2 separate regions of the Homo sapiens genome follow, and region 2 is linked to region 1. The links are contacts of gene promoters, found by promoter capture Hi-C in human tissues and cell types (Jung and others, 2019). All regions are on one chromosome and are shown on one strand. The core of a region is centred on a gene start or on the middle of the fragment in contact, and the rest is flanking DNA. Distances in the headings are between cores, read along the strand shown. Region 1 holds the start of HOXC5 (homeobox C5). Region 2 overlaps FLJ12825 (a long non-coding RNA gene).

The links. Contacts are between HindIII fragments. The study calls those that stand out against the background at their distance.
Region 2: a fragment that was not itself captured here is called in contact with the fragment with the promoter of HOXC5 in region 1 in 4 of the 25 tissues and cell types used here (H1 embryonic stem cells, heart right ventricle, neural progenitor cells and 1 more).

What each region holds. Positions count from the first base shown.
Region 1 is chr12:54,029,546-54,036,980 of GRCh38, reverse strand. It overlaps HOXC5 (homeobox C5), which reads right to left and starts at 3,931. Exons shown (of 2, transcript NM_018953.4): 1 at 3,405-3,931; 2 at 1,620-2,703. The coding sequence starts at 3,858. The coding sequence ends at 2,489. It overlaps MIR615 (microRNA 615), which reads right to left and starts at 3,031; the gene lies at 2,936-3,031. It overlaps HOXC6 (homeobox C6), which reads right to left. Exons shown (of 2, transcript NM_004503.4): 2 at 6,158-7,326. The coding sequence ends at 7,019. It also overlaps a transcript of HOXC4 not described here. RefSeq lists a silencer at 2,833-2,892 and enhancers at 2,976-4,127, 4,122-4,416. The HindIII fragment of the contact is 19,535 bases long and covers 1-7,435 here.
Region 2 is chr12:54,104,643-54,112,077 of GRCh38, reverse strand. The region is part of intron 1 of FLJ12825 (a long non-coding RNA gene); the gene reads right to left. Among named protein-coding and RNA genes, the nearest start is that of LINC02381, 18 kb to the left of the region's middle. The HindIII fragment of the contact is 5,117 bases long and covers 2,082-7,198 here.

The sequences.
Region 1 (7,435 bases), core at 2,682-5,181:
CTGGTGTGCCCTGCCTGGCAGCTCTAACCAACATTGCCCCTATCTATGACAAAGCCCTTGGTTTTCCCCTGGGGTGGTGCGCCTGTCCCCTGGGGAGGAAGCACAGGGCCTGGGCAGCCTGGGAGGCTGGAACAGGTGGGTGCGGGTGCCACAGCCTCTTTCTTAGTTAACTGTTACCCACCGGAGACGCCAGTGCTTCTCCACGCTTCACTGCTCACTCAATAGTTTTACTCAGCATGGAGAAAAAATTAAAATAACTCCCTGAAGAAAATTACACATTTTATTTCAGAGAGAGAGAGAGAGAGCACTGGTCTGGGTTAACTGCTGTGTGCAAGTTGAGGAGAGACAACAGGCGCCCTAACCTGGCCTGAGTGCAGTGCGAAGGGGAAGGGTGGTAGTTGTGGGCACTGTTCAATAAGCATTTGTTGAGACTGCCTATGTGCCAAGCATGGGGTGAGGAAAGGCTCTTGGGTCTTTTAAAAAATGACTGATGGGTAGCTTAGGCAGTGGGATGCAGCGAAGTTAGTCCTTATAATAAATCCAAGGAGCATCAGCATTAATAATCATAAATATTCCCCTGCCCCTCCCCAGAGCCCCTCTGCTCCCCTTTCTTCTTGGCTGCTGGTGCAATCCCTTAGCCAAGCTCCAGACCCTCACCCCACCAGTGTGGGGGGCCTAGGCTTGGCTCCAGGAAATCACCCTGTTGTGGGAGGTGGGAGAGGAAATGCAGTAAAGTTTTATGGACCCTTCCCACATTTGTTTCTACTGTAAAGTGCTTCCTCCCCCAGCCCATCCCAGGAGCCTGGAGAAGGACCTGATCCTCAGACACTACCTGAATTATCTGCCTCCTCCCACCCCCACTTTTAACCCATCCTCCCCTCCACACAAAATCCCAGAGACTGAGATAAATGATGGCAGACAGACGTGACTCCAGCACTGGTCTATGCAGCTCCTTTCCCAGTTAATTGTCCTGCATAGCCCGAGGCCCTAGAAGGTGGTGGAAACAGTCTGAACATTTCCTGCCAGGCTGATACACACTGCAGATTGTCCTCCCTGCTCCCTCTTCCCCAGTATCTTAGATACTGAGGCACACCTCCTCCAACTCTCCCAACACCCCCTTACCAAGCAATACCACCTCCCTCTAGAGGCCCTTATGAGACCAAATGGGTCCCTAGAGTGAGGGCTCAGCCCTCCCTCTATGTCCAGCAAGGCCTCTCAGGGACCACCTAGGCCCAGGAAAGATCTTCAGAGGCCCAGAAGGTCCTAAGGCTGAGCACGGTGGAGCCACTGGTTCCTGCACCGCAGCTTTGGCACACAGTGGGGGCTGCTGCCAGTCCAGAGGCCTCCTGGAGTGCAGAGGCGTGAAGGCCTTGGACAGCCACAGCATGGGAAAAGCCAGTACTCGAGGCCTAGGTGCCCTTCTCTTCCCCCAGAGGCTCTTGTTGCAGCCAAGGAACAGGAAAGGAGCTCAATTTCACCTCCCTCTACTCACTGCCCCTAGAAGCTAGAAAATTTTTTAAAGGGGTGGCTTAAAGTTTGTGGGTCTCCTTCTACATCTCACAGCCCATTTAGACAATTTTACCCAATACATGCCCCAAACAGACAGGAGCCACTGCATCTTTAGTCCTGTTCTCTCTTTATTTGATATGACAAAATATAGTTTCAGGAAGGACCCAGAGTCAATAAATAGTTGGACAACAGCAATGGGTCAGGAGGGCACAGAAATTCGTGGCAGGGACTATGGGACAGCAAAGGGCCTCTAGGACCACTTGCTGGGGTCCAGTGCCAGGAAACCCCACTAGTTGAGCTAGCTAGCAGGCTGGGGCTGCCGGCCTGAGAGGGCATGCAGCAGGCGCAGGCTGGGGAGGTTCCCGGGTTTTGGGGGGAAGAGGTTGTGGAGATAAGGTTTGGAAAGCATAGAGCAACTGTGGGGGCCCTAGGCCGATGCTCTCCTTTCATATGCAAATCATTCATAAGTGAAAATCTAGTTTAGTCGCTACAAGGAAGCACCCCGAGTCTAGGGCCAGACTCTCGCCAGCCTTTGGCTGTCTAACCCGTCCAGCCGGGAACAAAGGAGAGGGCGAGGTTAGAGGGTCCGGCGAGGGTCCTGTGGCGCGGGCCGGGCCCACCTTAACTCGGGAGGGCCGCGCTGAGGCTGGGAGCCGGAGATACGGCCCAGGCCAAGGTTCGTTCTGCGCCAGCCTGTACGCCGCAGCCCTCCGGGGAAGTCCTGCGGAGCTTGCCCTGGGCCCCGGGTACCGAGCTGAGCCGAGCTGAGGGGAGATGGGGCAGCGCCGACAGCCCCGCGGGAACCCTGGGTCGGTAGGGATGCGGAATGCCAAGGAAAAGCGCTTTTGTCTGTGGGGCCCGGGAGCCCAGTGCTCCAGCACCTGCCCCCGACCCGAAATATAGAGAGGAAAGGCGAAAAGGAAAGGCGCAGGGACAGGAACCGGCTAGGGGCGCGCTCTGCGGGCCTCCCCCGCTGCCTCTAAAGAGCCTCTTTGCTTTTCATTTTGGAATCTTTCTTCCACTTCATCCTGCGGTTCTGGAACCAGATCTTGATCTGTCTCTCATTGAGACACAAGTTGTTGGCGATCTCTATGCGCCTGCGGCGAGTGAGGTAGCGGTTAAAGTGGAATTCTTTCTCGAGTTCCAGAGTCTGGTAGCGCGTGTAACTGGTTCGGGACCGCTTGCCGTCCGTCTCTGGAACATAAACCCCACCCCAAGCCAGGAAGGGGTGAATAGCTTGCAGCGTTCCCCCGTCCCCACCCCAGCCCAGGCCCCCACCCGCGGCCGGAGGGAGAGGAGGCGAGAGCCGCAAGACAGGCCACGCGGGCCGCAGGCGGGCCAGCCCAGCCCAGCCCCGGGAGAGGCGCCTCCGCCCAGGCAGGAAACTTTCCACCGCAGCCTTCACTCTGCAGCCGGAGGGGCTGAGGGGGGGTTGGGGGGAAGAGGGAGACCCAGGCTCGGACCGAACAATAAGCACCCTCGAGATCCGAGCACCGGGGACCCCCCTCCCGCCCCTCCCGAGTCGCTGGAATCCTCCGGAGCCGCAAGCGCCGGCGGAGCCGGCTCCGCAGGGGAGGGAGGGAGGGAGCCGCGGGGGGATCCCCGCTCTGGAGCCCCGCGCTCCTCACCCTTCAGATCCCTCTATTTTTTTAACTCCCTCCCTCTCCCCCAAAAATTGAATATTGCCTTTTATACACGTTTTGTTCCTATGATCCAATTATGTCGTCGTAAATTTGGGCGCACACAGCCTCTAAGCCTTTTAGTGGACAGTTTTACGAGCCATTGATGCCTGGATCGTAAAATTTATGGCCGCAGGTTTTTTTTCTTTATTTGCCCCGCATGGCCTATAAAACCCAGGCGGACCCGAGAGCGCAAAATGAAGTCCTAAAGTTTACCGTGGCTCATGTGCAGTTTGGTCATCCACGGGTAAATCTGTGGCGGGGCCGGTGGCTGGCTCAGTCCGGCGGGCTGCCCTGTCTGCGCCTGCTCCTCTTTGATCTCCCCACTGCTCTTAGCTCGCTCCTCCAGCGCCGGGCGAGCCGCCTTCTGACTGTACATCCCGGGGTTCAGAGGAGCCGCTTCGTCTCTGCCCGGAGCGTGTCCCGGAGCGGCCGCGGCGCTGCAGGCGGGGCGGTCGGGGTGAGCCCGGGGGTTGGCAGCCATGTCTACCCCGTGGAGAGAGTTGGAAGGCGCAGGCGGTGGGAAAGTGATGCTTAAGTCCAATCCGCCGTAGCAGTACCTGGATGCCTGCACCTCTGAGGCCGATCCATAGTTCCCACAAGTTTGCATGTTATAGGCAGGGATATTGGGGCTCTGCTTATAGAATGAATTGGCTACGTAGGAGCTCATGGCGGGGAGGGCCCAAAAAAATTTCTGCACCCTTTTTGATTAAGGGTGATTTGTGACTCTTTGAAGTTGAGGGGTTTTTTGTTCTCCAAAGTGGACAATTTATAGGTGGAGATATCTCTTTCTTTATCCTATGCGCTCTTCCCAAATAAGGGAGCCTTAAATAGAGTCACGTGACTCGAGCGGCCACTCATAAATTTGGCTTGATGACCTCCGGGAGGTTAGTGATGGAAGCCGGCGAAAAGCATCTCGATATGTTGGCAAAGCCCAACCAAGGGGGAGAGGGAGTGAGAGAGAGAAAGAGGGAAGGGGGAGGGAAAAAAAAAAAAAGGTTCTTGGAATTGGGGGTAGCCGGGACAACAAGCCCACAGCGACACCTGGTGCCTATGTGGGGGAATTGCATCCTGGAGCGCCAGCTTGCTTTCCGGTGGCTGGATTTCCTACACTGTGAAGGAGAAGCTGGTTGTTGGGGCAACCCCTGAGCTAGCCTTTTAAATTCTATTTAAAATTGGGAAAAGACGAGGCCCCACTTATAACGCACAGAGTGCTTTTTGTAATGAAAGTCCCGTTCTCCCAACCTCCAGGGTCTTCCAATCTTCAAAAATGGCTGAGGAAAGGGGATTAAGTTAGGTAAGGTGGCCTATGCCCAGGCTGGAGAACCAATGGGGTTTAACTTAGGTTCCCTAAACCAAAGGTAGAAGTCCCTTGCCTCTCAGGCCCTAAGGCTCCACTACTGCTGAAGAGGTGCCTATCAGCAAGAGAAAGTAGAATTAGCTTCTGAAGAGGTAGACAGGACGCCCAGGAGGAGGGATCCTGAGTGGTCAGAACAAGATAGGGGGGTCATGAAGCTGAGGGTGTTGCAGGCTGTTTGGGATGGATCTGGAGGTGAGGAGCCAGGTGGAGTTGGCTAGACCTCACCATGCTAGGGTCCCCAGAGTGGCAACAAGGCAATTTTCAAGTGTGTGTGTGGACACGGACAGAGCCAGACAATGGTCTAGAGGACTGCTCTGTTTCCCTGTGTGCGATCCTTATGTGGTACCTATGCCAGAGGTTTTAGACAGAAAATAGATGTTAATTGAGGACATGGAGAAGCAAGATTGAAGCCTCCACAAATATTACGTGAGCATGGCAGAGGAAAAGGCCCGTTATGTGCCCTTTGGGGAAAAGGTCTCTGGGCTAGGCTTTCCAGGGACCTGAATCCATAAGGTTCACAAGAGAGCAATTTCTGAGCTACCAAGAGGAATGGGGCGGACCTGGGGGGTGGGCAGGGCAGGCGCCTGGGTAGCCTTCGCAGGGTATCTGCAGCCATTCGGCCCCATCCTCTTCCCCCGTAGCCCCAAGTCTCATACTTCCCTGCCTGCTTCTTCCCAGGAAATCTCCGCCCCGCCAGGAGAAGGCCCCCTCCTCACTGGTGGAGGCACTGGAGGCGAGGGTGGGGGCGCTGGAGGGAATCTGAAGGGCCCGGAAAACTCTGGCGGATTTTTTCCCTCCGGAGACCCTCCTCAACACCTCTCCCTGTAGGCCCACTCAGGTTTCTCTGGCCAGGCTTGGAGAGAGAAGGCCAGGGTTGATAAATGGTTAGGGTCCGGCTGCGCTCCTCACCCGCCTCTTCACCCGTTTGAGGAGAGAAAAGTAAGGAACCAGCCCGGCTGGAGCTGTAATGAAGAAGGAATTTTGTCCCGGCCACGTCAGGAGTACCAGAGCAGGCGAGAGCTCAGTTTCCAGGCTTTCTCTCTCGAGATGTCCTTGAATCGCTCAATCCCTGCCGACAGGGCTCCAGTCCCGCGGTCTTCTCTTTCCCTCCGCTCTCCGCCTCCGCTACGTTTCGCAACAGCCAGCTTGGCGCGGGCCTGGGGCTTGCTCTCACGGCGCCCCCCGCCTCCAACTCCCGGGAGTGGGTGGAGGAGACCCTGGTGCCTGGATAGTGCTTCTTTACTGGTCTTTCGGGGCGCCTCAGGGTTCGGACGCCGAGGACACCGGCTGCCACAGGCAGGAAGAAAGGCCTGCGTGGGGTTGGTGCCCAAACCGACTGATCCCAGCTCCCCCCGCAACAAAATCCTACGCGGCTTTTTCCCGCAGGGTGTGTGTGTTGCTCCGCGCAGGGAGCCCAGAGAGGCCTCCCAGCCCCTCAGTGCGATCGCGAGAACGAACAGAAGGCCGGGGCCGGGCGCCTGGGCTCCGGGGAAGGCGAGTGCAGAGGGCTGGGGGCTTGCAGGGGGCCGGCAGGCGCGGGAGCGCTTGGAGCCTGCTCCAGCTCTCACCCTGAGGCCGGCGGGCGAGCGAATTAACAGAATTCCCGGTATAAAGTTTTAAAAATAATATCAGTTTTATTAAATATTCGAGAACGGACCCAGAGGTTGGATTTATACAGGAGGGTAACACGAAGGGATTTATTTATTTATTTATTTTCTCCTACTGGCTAAACAAACGTCATTCACTTTTTTTCTCTCTTTTTGTAATTTTCCCTCTTTTTTTTCCTTTTTTGAAATTGGATAGGAACACTGACGGTGCTAAACATAAATATAAATACAGAGACCACAAATACAGCTAAAAATCTTCACACAGAAACGGTCACAGTTTGTAAAATGCCATAATGACCCCCAGGATTCTTTAAATACAATTTGCCTGGGCTGGGCATTTGCTGGGGCAGAGGGGCTAGGCAGGGACTGCGGGGAGGCCCTGGGGGTTGGTGTGGGGCCAAGGCGCGCCCTCCTTGGGCCTCCGGCCCTCCCCGGCTGCCAGGCCGGGCCCTGAGGCCCTGGAGCAGAGGCCCCAGCAGGCCCAGGAGCCGGCTCTCTGCACGGGGGGCGGGGGTGGGGGCGTCGAAGGAGTGGGGGAGCCAAGTCCTCACTTGGAGGGCAATCTGTAGAGTCTGAGTTCAGGGTCCGAGCCCCCAAGGCCTGGACGGGGAAAAGGGCCTGTAGACAAGCCGAGAACGAGCTAGCAAGGGAGCGAGGAGGAGGAGGCGCGTGGTGAAAGAGAGTTGTGCGGTGAGGGAGGGGGTCCAGAGCTGACTTTCAGGTCCACGTTTGACTCCCTAATTTTGTTTTAGGGAATCAAAACACATCAATTGTGCCAGTGATAAATACAGAGTGTGTGATTAGGGGAGAGTTGGTGGGGAGCGAGGGAGAAAGGGAGAGAGGGGTGGCAGGGACAGTCCTGGTCACTCTTTCTGCTTCTCCTCTTCTGTCTCTTCCCGCTTTTCCTCTTTTCCGCCCAGGCTGTCGGCGGTGGCCCCTCCGCCGCCCCCCGAGAGAGTGGATGTGAGATTAGATTCTTTTTTCCACTTCATCCGGCGGTTCTGGAACCAGATTTTGATCTGTCGCTCGGTCAGGCAAAGCGCGTTGGCGATCTCGATGCGCCGGCGCCGCGTTAGGTAGCGATTGAAGTGAAATTCCTTCTCCAGTTCCAGGGTCTGGTACCGCGAGTAGATCTGGCGGCCGCGCCTCCGGTCCGCTCCGTAGCCGACCCCTAAAGATCCGGGCACAAAACACACTAAAAGCAATCAGCAAAGCGTCCTCTGCAGACTGTTTCGCCTAGCAAAGTCCTGACCCTCCCAACCTGGCCAGCAGCTCACAGC
Region 2 (7,435 bases), core at 3,391-5,890, 74 kb before region 1:
AATGAATAAAAATGAAGGTCCTTGTCCATGAGGTGGAGGGAAGCCCATGTGTCTTCTTAGTGCCTGCTATGGTTTCCAAGACCCTGCAGCATCTGCTGCTAACCCCAGGATATCTCCCTCCAGGACCCTTCCTCACCCCTGTCATATCAACCCAGGACCAATGGGGCCAATCTTATCTGAATACCCTTGCCTCCCCACTTTCCTCGAGTCACCTTTCTTAAGTCCTTCACACAATGTTCTTTTCCTCCCATTTTCCTTCCTCCAAGATACTTTCTCAGATTACCTACGGCCTCAGTCCTGGATTCAGATATTCTTTCAGATAATCTTTTATTTCTTATTTTTTATTTTTTTTATTTTTCTTGAGACAGAGGCTCCCTCTGTCACCCAGGTGGGAGTGCAGTGGCAGTCTTGGATCACTGCAACTTGTGTCTCCCAGGTTCAAATGATTCTCCCGCCTCAGCATCCAGAGTAGCTGGGATTACAGGCTTGTGCCACCATGCCCAGCTAATTTTTGTATTTTTAGTAGAGACGAGGTTTCATCACGTTGGCCAGGCTGGTCTCGAACTCGTGACCTCAAATGATCTGCCCGCCTCAGCCTCCCAAAGTATGGGGATTACAGGCATGAGCCACTGTGACTGGCCTATCCAGCAATATTTACTGAGTATCTACTATGCACTAGGCACCGGTTGCCAAGAATTCATGAATAAATGGAACAGGCATAATCCCTGAACTCAAGGACCATACATTTCGGAGAGTGAAACAGACAAAAAAATAAGTAAGCAAGTTAGCAAATACATACATGCAATTTTGAGACCTGTTGTGAAGTGGGTAATCACAGACAGGGTGGAGCAGGGACCCTTTAAATTGGGTGGTCAGCTAGGCATGGTGGCTCACGCCTGTAATCCCAGCACTTTGGAAGCCTGGGGCAGGCGGATCACCTGAAGTCAGGAGTTCGAGACCAGCCTCACCAACATGGAGAAACCCTGTCTCTACTAAAAATACAAAAATTAGCCAGACGTGGTGGCGCATGCCTATAATCCCAGCTACTTGGGAGGCTGAGGCAGGAGAATCCCTTGAACCCAGGAGGCGGAGATTGCCATGAGCCAAGATCATGCCATTGCACTCCAGCCTGGGCAATAGGAGCAAAACTCCGTCTCAAAAAAATAAAATAAAATAATAAAATAAAATAAAATAAATTGGGTGGCCAGAGAAAGTTTCTCTGAGGAAGTGACACTTGGGCTGAGGTTTGAAGAATGAGAGGGAGCCATGTAAAGAGTGAGGTAACAGCATTCTAGAAACAGTTCAGTCACCTGGGTGTGCACAGCAGCATTTGGGGGATAGGAGTGGGAGAGGAGCTTTCCCAAACTGCACACTCCTATCTCTTTTACATTTTGAAAGACCCTACCCTTCCAATGTGGGAGGACCATTGCTTAAAATCTCTGGAGAAGCAGCCCTGGCCTTACCTGGAAGCTGGTTAGAAAACAGAGCTCGGGTGCCACCCCAGATCTACTGAGTCAGAATCTGTATTTTAACCAGGTCCCAGGTCATCTGTATGCGCAGTGGTGTTTGAGAAGCAGTGTTTCAGGAAATACCTCACAGGAGGAATGGAGTGTGAGGACATCAGAGGATATGAGATGGGTGGGGTTGGGGGGTTGGTTGCTGAAGAGTGGATTTGAATCAGAGATGGGGGTCTGAGTGTGTATATGTGCCTCTGTGTGTGCGTTCCTCCAGCCCTAATGACTGTGGGCTATCTGAGGATGTGCATCTCCAAGCGCTTTTCCTTCTATGGGTGTGGAGTACCAGGGGATACTGTACATCTTTATCCCACTGTGACAATGCCCCCACTTCCACCTACAGCTGTGAGTCAAACAGAATCTGCCAACCTCTGCGTGGTGGGAGCATCTCGGAAGCAAGGCAAGGCAAGCCAAGGAGATCCCTTGTTCCTGACCTCCGGCAATCCATTTATTTGACCTGAGTCTCATAAAGGCGTCCTGATGAGCCCAATCGCTTGCTAATGGTTATGAGCTGAGACCTGGGGATTTATGGCTGAGGCCTCCGTGGCCACGAACAGGAGTAGGGCTGCGCACAGGAGGCCAGGCTGTGCATGGCTTCAGTTCATGGAGGCCTGTACCCAGAACCACGGCGGGGACTACCACACCGCCACCTCCAAATCTGGGGCAAAGAACATTGCCCTGGGTGGGGGAAGCTGGGCTAAGGAGAAAAAAGACCTCTGGCTGGAGATGTCCAGGGATGAAGGGTGAGTGTCTGGGAAACTGGCCTGACTTGGCTGGGTGGGGTGTAGGGGGAGATACTGGAGAAGTGAGTGGAAAGGGCACTGGAATTGGAGCCAGTCAAACTGGGGTTCAAATCCTGGATCTGTTTTCCACCCGTGTATGACACTGGACAAATCATGGCTCTCCCTGAGCCTCATTTTTCTCATCTGTAGATGGGAATTGTGACGCTATCTCATAGGTTTGTGAGAATTAAATGAGGCCAGGTACGGTGGCTCATGCCTGTAATCTCAGCACTCTGGGAGGCCAAGGTAGGAGGATTTCTTGAGCCCAGGAGTTCAAGACCAGCCTGGGCAACATGCCGAAACCCTGTCTCTACAAAAATACAAAAATTAGCCAGGTGTGGTGGCATGTGCCTGAGGCTGATGTGGGAGCATTGCTTGAGCCCAGGAGCTTGAGACTGCAGTGGGCCATGATCATGTCACTGCACTCCAGCCTGGGTGACAGAGTGAGATCCTATCGAGAGAGAGAGAATTAAATGAGATAATGTTTGTGAAAAGCATTTCGAATACCAATTGTATATATTTAAGTGGGTCAAGAGATTGGGATTCTAATTCCAGCTCCACCACTAACTTGCTGGGATTCTAGCACTGGTTTTGTTAGCAATGGCTTTTTTTTTTTTTTTTTTTTTTTCCTGAGACAGGGTCGCACTCTGTCGCCCAGACTGGAGTGCAGTGGTGTGATCTCAGCTCGCTGCAACCTCTGCCTCCCAGGCTCAAGCAATTCCCCTGCCTCAGCCTCCTGAGTAGCTGGGATTACAGGCATGCTCCACTACTGCCCGCTAATTTTTATATTTTTAGTAGAGACAGGGTTTCGCCATGTTGGCCAGGCTGGTCTCGAACTCCTGACCTCAAATGATCCACCCATCTTGGCCTCCCAAAGTGCTAGGATTTCAAGCGTGAGCCACCCCGCCCGCCCAGTTACCAATGGCTTTGTGACCTGGGGCACATCACAGACCCTTTCTAAGTCTTAGTTGCCCCACAGATACTAAGAGGGGACACAGTGCTCTTTTGGTTGCCTCCAGCTCTGATGTTTTGTGGTTCTAACGAGGAGTCCTTGTTTGGAAATGGAACTTTGGAATGGTTTGGATCTCATTCTGGCCATAGAGAGGGCATCATTGCAACTGTGGCTTCAGGGCCAATGTGCGGTTAGGGGGGCTGAGTCAGAACAGCCCCCTCTTCCTCGATAGTGCCATCCTGTGAGTACAACCCCTGTATGGGTGTTGGACACAGTGTTGGGGAAGACTGGGCAACAGGGGTAAGTAGGAAAGGCCCTGTAGTAGGAGGTTAGCTGGGTATCCATGGAAATGCCTGAACTACTCATGCCTTTTGCACAAGTAGGTCTTCAAATAATCTCTTCTGCTTCCCTCTTTCCCACTCTTTCCCTGTCTAAGGTGTGTGGTGGTGTGTGTGTGTGTGTGTGTGTGTGTGTGTGTGTGTCTAACCTGATTGGGAGAGTAAGCCAAATGGAGTGAAGTGGAGAAACATCCCCAAAAGTCCCAGGTAGAGACCTAAGGATTCCTAAATCACAGTGCAGAACATGGTCCTCCACCCTTTTCCCATTCTGGGAACATCCTGAAGCCAGTCATTGTGGGAGACAGACATGACCCCCAACCCAGCCTCACAGACCCCACCCCTCTTCCATGCTTTGCCCTACCCTCCTTCCGTGTGCTTGTATCCTAACCTTAAGCCCTAGAGACTTCTAGGTACCCAGAGAACAGCCTATTCAGTGATGTTTACTGAGCGCATGTTATGTGCCTTGCACTGGGCCTGGAGCAAGGGCTAAGGAGTGAAATTAGACCTGATCCCTGTTCTGAAGATGTCACAGCTGAGTAGGCAGAAAGACTTTAAACAGATAATGGCAACACGATGTGCTAAGGAACATCAATGTACAAGATAACAGGTAGTCTGTATTTATGGGAGAGGGAGGCGTAAAAGAAGATGCCTCAGCTGCTTTCTAAACATGTTTGTTGTGGAACATTGAAAACATACGAAAACAGAGCAGTATAGTGTCCTCATCATGCAGCTGCAACAATGGTCACACCAGGATCTTGGTGTGTCTATACTCCCACCCACGTTCCATACCCCACTGCACTTACTTGGGGTGGAACTGGGTTGGTTTTGAAAGAGGAACAGCAGTTCCGCAAGTAGAAAGTGCTGGAGGGAAAAGCTTGCAGGCAGAGGGGATGCCGTGCTCAGAAGCTTGAGCAGTGCCTGATGCTGGTGCACCAAACCGAAGCTGAAGCAGTGGGACAAGATGCTTTGGCCCCCGTTCATGCTGGCCCTAATCCATCTGTCACACAGCGTGCCCTGTGGCTCCTTTTGGAACTCGGGTCTCCAGGCAAGTCGGGTCTCCAGGCACAGCCAGGTTAGCGCAGAGCCAGCCCTTTGAGTGCAGGGAGTGAGGAGGCACCGCTAAGACGGCGGGCCTTGGCTGGGCGTCGGCGGGGCCTTGGTGGGCCTAGAGCGCTAGGGACTGGCACGCACCAGCACTGACGGACAAAGCGGGCGCAGTTAGGCCCTCCACCCCGCGTCGGCACGCGGTCTTAAATATTACCCCGGAGTTTTCAATTATCTCTCCTTAATGGATTTGCAGGGGCTCTTTCATCAAGCGCGGGGTGGCTGGGTGTGGGGGTGCGGAGAGAGCGCGGCGAGGGCTGGAGCTGGGAAAATGGCCCATATTTCAATATTAAAGCCCTTTACGATCGTCAGCAGCATGAAAGATGCTGCAAATAAAACGGAGCCGTCCGCGCCAGCCTCTCCATCTCGCAAGTTTTAATTAACGCTGAGTGGGAGGCGGCTGACGGGCGGGTCGGAGCCGGGCCAGGGGCGGATCTGGGAGCCTGCGGATCCCAGATTCCGAACTGGAGCGGCAGGGATCTCGCGGGCCAGGCCAGGCGGAGGCGGAGGGTGGTGGGCTCCGAGTCCCGGGCGAGGGCGCGGAAGATGCTCGTGGAGATGGGCAAGGCTGAGGGGTGGGGGACAGGGTGGAAGGTCTCTGAGCATCTGACCGGGAAACAAAACTCTGCAACTGAATGCAGAAAGCTTTGTTCTTAAAGGTGAGGGGGCTTGTGGCCAAATCATCGAGCTCTTCATCCCCAGGCTCCTTCAGCGCGCGTCCTTCTGCCTCTCTTCTTTCGACCAACAATTCCCCCAAACGCTCCCCCGCGTTGATTCCCGGTCCCCTCCCACCTCGTCCTGTGGCCCCTTGTTTCGGGAGGCAGGCGTGCTTCTGTGACCCCACGGCTCCTGTTCTGGGACGTCTGCTTTCTCCATCACTCCCTGGCTTCCCGGGCGGGCCCCATCCTCCGGAGCGGAGCGGAGCAGCGCGCACAGAAGCGCCACTGTTCTGCCTTGGCAGGGCCTGGCCCGACAGCTTGTGCCTGCGCAGCAGACGCATCCGTCAGGCGGGAAGGATGGAGCGACGTCCGGCTGCCCGCTCCGAGGACTCCCCAGGGAGACACCTCTGGCCTTGGCCCAGACTCCTCTCTTCCCTTCTCCCCACCCGCCAACCCTTCCCCCAACTACCAGCTCAGTATATACTTCTGTCTCTCCTCCTTTCCTTGCTTCTCCTCCTCCCTCCCATACGCATGCAGCCTGGGGCCTGGGGCCCAGGAGAGCCACTCCTCTCATGGGTCACACTGAGAAGTCCTTCCTCCACTTGCATCCACATGGTAGGGCATAACTCTAAAGCTTAAAAAGATCCAGCGATCTCAGGGGACCACAATCCAAAGCTAAGTCAGCCAACCAACACTCAAGGGCTAAAATCAAGGACTTTGGGCAAGCCCTATAGAGTGGAGGAATTAGAAAAATAATACAAATAAAAGACATGGTCATTATTCCTGGGTATTTACAGATACTTTGTGCTTCCTGAAGTGTTTTGCAGAAATCACATTCTCCTCTCATTGTGCTACACAGCTTGTAAGCACCAAGACAAGAAATTCTATGATAAAGCAAAAAGAAAAGAAAAGAAAAAATCCTCTTCTACTTTCTTCTTCGTGTGTATTTTTTCTTGTCAATTTCTGATAATCTGTCAAGCCTACTTAAAATAGTGCCTGCTTATGCAGTATGGTTAGGATGATGAACACACACTTAAACAGGATAGGGAATAAGTACAAACTACAAGTGCTGTGGGGATGCAGAGTAGTAGGACAAGTGGTGAAAATTAAAACATTTTTGGCTTAATCAAGGAGTACTTCCTGGAGGAGGGGAGACCTGATTTGGAAGGAGAGGTGATATAAACTTGAAAAGAAAGTTCCAGATGTGGAAACACTGGTTTTATTCTTTATTTTTATTTTGAGACAGGATCTTACTCTGTCACCCAGGTTGGAGTGCAGCGGCACGATCTTGGCTCACTGCAACCTCCACTTCCTGGGTTCAAATGATCCTCTGCCTCAGCCTCCTGAGTAGCTGGGACTACAGGCATGTGCCACCACACCCAGCTAATTTTTTTGCTTTTTTTGTAGAGATGGGGTTTTGCCATATTGCTCCAGCTGGTCTTGAACTCCTGGACTCAGGCGATTCCCCTGCAGCCTTGGCCTCCTAAAATGCTGGGATTATAGGTGTGAGCCACCACACCTGGCTAACACCGGTTCTAAAATTAGGCAGAATCTATATGTTACTTCAGGTTGAGGAGCAGATAATCTTGGCTATATTTTCCCTGACAATACAGTAAGATGAAAGAAGCCTTGTGCAATAGCAGGAAGAATTCAGGGTAGACAGTGGGATCTTGGCTAATGCTGGAGACTAAAGTGAATGGAGAGAGACCCTGAAGCACCCTTCTCCCATACTTGGCTATGGGCTATGGGAGGGATGCCTGGACTCTGAGACTTGGCCACCATGTTGTGTTTTGCCATTAGAAGATTTGGACATGAAGTTGAATAAGGCAGGAATGACCTCACAGCATCAACCACAACCCCCAATGTGGTTGGAGAAGGAGGGAGAGAGGACAAAGAATATCTTCCTCTTACTCAGATTGTAAGTGGAGAAACTGAAGTCCATTCACTCAAATCGATAAGTGTCTACTGAGCACCTCCTATGTGGCAAGCACTATATAGGCCCTAAGGATCCAGAGATGATCAGGGCATGGTCCCTGTCAACATGGTGCTCACAGTCTAGTGGGAAATAGAGTTCACTCGTCATTCT